2 separate regions of the Homo sapiens genome follow, and region 1 is linked to region 2. Evidence: promoter capture Hi-C in 16 types of primary human blood cells and fetal thymus (Javierre and others, 2016). All regions are on one chromosome and are shown on one strand. Each heading gives the region's core, a stretch centred on a gene start or on the middle of the fragment in contact. The rest is flanking DNA. Distances are from core to core; before and after follow the strand shown.

Region 1 (2,802 bases), core at 5-2,504, 1.0 Mb after region 2:
TCCTGGCAGTAGAAGGAAGAGTTAGTTTGGGGAATTTGGAGAACTTCATGTCATTCAACGTGATGGAAACATTTGGTACAGAAGGAAGAAAGAACAAATGTGGCAAGAGATGAGGCCGAACTGGGGAAGGAGTTGCCCTTCATAAGGAATCTTGAAGGGGTGTGGGCCTTACCTAAGAGAGGAAGCCAGTGGAGGATCCTGGGTGGGGCGGGGACACAGATGAATTCTATTTACATTTTACAAAGATTACTCTGGTTGTAGCATGAAGACAGACCAAAATGGGACAAGGGTGGGAATAGAAATGACAGAGGCCTGATCTAAGTCAGTGACCTTGGCAAGCGAGGAGGAAAAAATACTTGAGAGACAGTTAGGAAGTAGAGTAATTGGGGTTTATCGGTGAATCAGCAGGAAAAGGGAGAAGGCTGGTTGGTGGTACCACTCAACAGTATAGGCAAGGTAGGAGTTGAAGCAATTGTGATTAGGAAGGACCTCTCACTTTTGATGCTTGTCCCTTTCAGAATGGCAAACCAAGCTTAGGTGAAGCCTAGATATTTGGGGGTTACTTTCTAACCCTATTGCTTGGACTCAACCATGCTGGTGTCTGAGCTCCTCTACTCAGACAAATGTTGCTTTCAGTAAGTTGCAAGCAAAGCAAAAGAAAGACATTCACCTACGGCCCTTCAGAAAAGCAAGCATGCTGCATGATGAACTCTGGTGCCCAGGAGGCAAGAAATAAAAAACACTTTTAATGTAACCAACTTTCCATGCCCCACCCTCACCCCAGGCGTCTGCATACACAAATCAAAACCATCTTAAGTCATGGAATGAAAAAAAATTAAAAGCAAACTAAAAGCACTTCCTGTGAGGTGAATGGAAATTTTTGCCCAGTTAATTTTCCAGGCACGTGAAAGCAGTTCTGAATATTTTAAACCACAAGTACTTGTATTCTTGACCAAGATTTTTGAGAAGGCGAGGCATGGGAAGGATCATTGAAACAGGACTTTGACATAAAACATTGTTTACATAGAAGTGAGCTCTTCTCCACTATCGGATCAATTTACCACCCAGTGTCTGACAAACTGAGAAGCGAGAGGGTTGGGAAAAAGCAAAGAGATACATATCAAACAAAACCACACATATCCAGTTGAACTAAAGCTGAATTTAACCATAACTTGTGCAACTTTTCTCCCCTTGAGGTAGAAACATTACACCTCCAATTGACCAGGACATCTTTTTTTGCATTCAAATTATCTTGGAATTTCCTCTAGGACCTAAGTATCCTTCCACCATGAAAATAGGAGACCAAAAAAAGTAATGCTTCCAGTAATTTCTAGCCAAATAAATGAGGATAAGTGTGTGAGTGTGGTGGGGTAGTTAAGAGTTTGGAATCCAGAGTTTCACTGTCTGGATTTGAACAGGCTCCGTTGCTCATCAGCTCTGTGACTCCGGGCAAATGACTGAATCTCTCTAACTCTCAGTTTTCTCATCTATGAAATGAGAATAAGTAACAGACTCTCCCTCGCTGAGTTGTTTGAGAACGGGATCAGACAATGCACGTGGAGCCCCGTGTCTGGCACACACTATGTCCTCATTGCATATTTATTATTAGGTTTCTGCTTTGTATTTTTCTCTGTGCAACAGCCCTGAGCTCTAGAACTTATGACAGCTTTTCTCAAGTGAAGTTAAAGTTCCCCATACTCAGTTCCAGAGCTAGGCCTCACCTAGGTTGGAAGAAGTCAATTGTTCTCCACTGCCTGCCTGTGTGCTGGGAAAGGACTCTAGCACAGTGCCGGTGGGGCTGGAAGCCTTTCCTCATGATGCTACGGGGAGTACAGTGAAAAGGGAGGAGATTGGGGTAGCAAGGTCCCAGGGGTCCTGGCAGCCCAGGCTCTACTTCTCAGGCTAGCTCAGTCCCTCAAACAGCTTCCTTCACACCCACTGCTGAGACCCAGGAGCCCTACAGAAGGTAGCTAGGGGAAGCTTCAGCAGCTAGGGGGATCCCTGCAGGATCAGCCTCCTCCTTACCTTGCAGACCCCTTGGCTGTGGTCTGGCATTCCTAGTGGCTGGCCTAAAGCCCCAAACCTGGAATCTGTTTCAGAGCCTGGACCTTTTGGACTCACACCTTGGTTTCCCTGGCCAGCTGATTTCAGCTTCTCATCTAAATGTCATTTCTGCAGGCTAAGGGAAGTCCAGCCTGGATCTAGCATCTTGGAAGCGCGTTCAGACTTCTGGATGGAGGGATCAGCAGGCCTTGGTATTGGTGGTTCTACCTGCTTCGGTTAAGAGTGAGGACTCTGGAGCCAGACTCTCTAAATCATAGCACTGACACTTACTATATGACTTGGGCCAGGTTCGTTACCTGTCTGTGCCTCAGTTTTCCTCATCTGTAAAATGGGAGATTAGTGGTCACCATTGGGATGATTAAGAAGATTAAATGAGTTAATGTATGTATAAACTATAGTTATAATGTAAATATATATACAAACAGTAACCATTTACATGCATATAAAACATAATATAAATGTAATATTAGCTATATTCATATATAAAAATAGGTATATTTTATATATAAAATATATTACATTTAATTTTTTACATTTTGCATTAAGATATATTATTTCATATAAAACATTTAAGTACATATACATATAATTATCTATGTAATTATTATTGTTATTGTTGTTATTGTCTACTTTACCTCCCTGCAGGGATGGGGAGACCACGGCAGGCTTTTAAACATTCTTGGTCTCACTGAGCCGTAGGTGAGGAATCCCTGGTTCCTACAGACTCTGCTGTAATAT
Region 2 (2,700 bases), core at 32-2,531:
ACATGCCTGTAATTCCAGCTACTCTGGAGGCTGAGGCGGGAAGATTGTTTGAACCCGGGAGACAGAGGTTACAGTGAGCCAAGATCCCACCACTGCAGTCCAGCCTGGGCAACAGAGTGAGACTCTGTCTCCAAAAAAACCAAACCAAACAAACAAAAAAAAGCCCCACATATTTCAAAAAATTTTATTTTAAGAAAAACAAAAAAACCTACTTTCAATTAAAAAACACAGTGGTTATGTTAATGCATCACCACATTCCTAGAGAAGTATTAAGGCAATGTATGTAAGTAAGTACATATACTCAGGTGCATTGATAATACGATTTATGTATACTTTCAGCAACAACACAAGGGGAGAGAAGATGATTTACTAGCTCTCCTCATAAAGCTACAAACAAAACCACAGATGTAACTCAGGTGGGAGTTTCCTAGTTTATGGCTAACTTTAGCTTATTAACACGACAAATATTATCATTTTCACTGAAAAATTTGACATTTTTTGTTGACTCAGCCAATCCAAGAAGCTTAATTAATATATAGTCCCTGCCCTCAAGAGACTTCCAATATAGTTGGAAGAGACCAGGCAAACACAAAGAAAGCTAACAATGCAATATATACCACAAGGCAGCATATAATTAGTTTTCGAATGAGTGCTAACAGACCTTGAGACCACTGGTTAAAATGTTTATATATCTATATAGATATACATAAATGGTAAATATGTTTTTTCATTTTCAAAAACTTTTTTTCCGTTTTCAAAAACTGTGAACCACCACTAGCAGACACCCTATAACAAGGCCCACTGTTCATTTTTAAATTACACATATAAAATGTTTCATTCAGAAAGCAAACCTGAAGCCCTTCAGCCTCCTCCACACTCACAATTCAAATTATATAGAACCTACGAAGCTGGTTAGAAAGCAGGTAATCTCAGAAAAAAGGGTGGGGGTGACAGCAGAAACAACCAGGGATCCACAAGGTCATACCAAAGGGGTGGTCGGAAAGGAACCTGGGGAAGGGAGAGAAGGCTGGAACGCTTACTTACTTCTTGTTATCAGTGTAGAAGCGTGTTTGGAGCTGAGCCATGGCGAGGAGTACACACGACTTGCCCACGGAAACGTACGGGTTAGCAGACCCACAACACGAAGCTCCTGCCTTTTAAGACTACAAAGAGGCAGCTCAAAATTAGACTGCACAGGTAAGCGAGGAACTGCAGTCTAAGCCTGGACTCTGCCTTCTGCCCTCCGGTCTCCTCTGCAGAAAGCACGAGGTTGCCCTTCTACAGACGCCCAGACCACAAACATCGACTACCTACTCCTAGATTTAGGAGTCATCGATTAGAAAAGGATAGTCGTAAAGGTAGCATGTCCCTTTAATCATTGTTAGAATTCTTCCCATACGTGTGGGCCCGTAATCGATTAGGAAAAAGATCCCACTCAAATCCGCTTTATTAATAAAAAATTTTTTTTCAAGAGGCTGTCCTGAGCCTGGATAGTTCAAACACAGCTCCTAGTTACTACAAGTCTCAGAAAGCATCGCTTCTCAAACGCTGTGACCACCGGGAATTGTAGTCTTTTTTTGCCACGCTGCCCTCAGAGTATCTTATTTGCATTAAATCCTCTAGACTCCAGCCAGATATCAAATTTCCTCTGCCTTCAGCTTTGCTTGACTAACGCCTTGCCAGTTTTTTTTTCTCATACATATTCCCAACCAGAGGCTCACTCGGCAGAGGTTTTTCCTAAATCTCGCCTCTAACTGCGGCTTTTAGAGAGAGGCGAGAGGCGGAAATACAAAGAAAAGAACGGATGAGAGAGGAAACGGTCGACGGTGGCCGATAGTGGTCCTACTGTCGTGGGACTGCTCTGCGCGCTCCCGGTGGGGCGCGCCTGCGCATTATGCTGGTCTCCATGGCGGGGCCTCGGAGCCAAGACGAGGTTGAGTAGACTCGTTTTGAATTTTCTCCCCTCTGCTCCGGCGGACTTCCCATGTCGCCTTGTGGGGCTATCGGCGGCGGCAGGACTGGGGGAGTCAGAGGTCTGGCAGCGCTGTCTGCGCAGACCTACCGGACGCTACCTCCCAACCCCCCGTCTTCCTCCTGCCTCCTCCTCCTCCCGTCACCTCCTGACCCGCCGGAGCTCCGAGCAACTGCCGGCCTCCGCCCCCAGCCGCAGCCGGTCACTGGCGGCGCCTTCCGCGCCAAGCTTGGGGGCCTTTTCGGGGTCCCACATGGCACGGCTTCCGACCCCCGGCCCGGGACGGGGCTCGCAGGCCCCAGAGGGGCAGGCTGGAGAAGGAGGAGGTTAGGTGTCTTCAGGAGGGTTGCTGAGCCCAAGGACGCGCCATCGCCGCGGAGAAGGAGCCGGACCCCTTGGGCGGAGCGCCCAATGTGTGGTCCCTCACGCCGTCCCGCACCTTGCTTTTTAGGGTTCTTTTTCCGCTTTCTGAGCCCTTTTATACCTTACGTTTAGAAGGGGAAAATCATCCTCCCACACCTTCTCCCCGACTTTTTGCCTTTTTTGTCTTGAAGTTACCCAAAGGCCTGTGTATTGTTCTCAATGGTCCCAAGAATTACTCTAATATAGTTGTTTTTCTGAGGGAGGATGGATGGAGATAACTATCCTGATCCCAATGTCACTTTTTAAGGCATTCGCTTCAAGAGACAAGCAGTTTAGAATCAGGCAGAACTGGATTGCAAAATTTA

The links. The method cuts DNA at HindIII sites, captures the fragments that hold promoters and counts their contacts. A CHiCAGO score of 5 or more calls a contact.
Region 1: a contact is called between a fragment that was not itself captured here and the fragment with the promoter of WDR12 in region 2, in 1 of 17 cell types (fetal thymus). The highest score is 6.1, in fetal thymus.

What each region holds. Positions count from the first base shown.
Region 1 is chr2:203,933,409-203,936,210 of GRCh38, forward strand. It overlaps LOC101927840 (a long non-coding RNA gene), which reads right to left. Exons shown (of 4, transcript XR_427213.4): 3 at 2,700-2,793. Among named protein-coding and RNA genes, the nearest start is that of ICOS, 2.0 kb to the right of the region's middle. The HindIII fragment of the contact is 1,448 bases long and covers 531-1,978 here.
Region 2 is chr2:202,910,392-202,913,091 of GRCh38, forward strand. WDR12 (WD repeat domain 12) reads right to left here and starts at 1,282. Exons shown (of 13, transcript NM_018256.4): 1 at 1,045-1,282. The coding sequence starts at 1,085. CARF (calcium responsive transcription factor) reads left to right here and starts at 1,884. Exons shown (of 17, transcript NM_024744.17): 1 at 1,884-2,700. RefSeq lists enhancers at 1,465-1,614, 1,625-1,774, 1,815-2,014, 2,115-2,164. The HindIII fragment of the contact is 1,677 bases long and covers 522-2,198 here.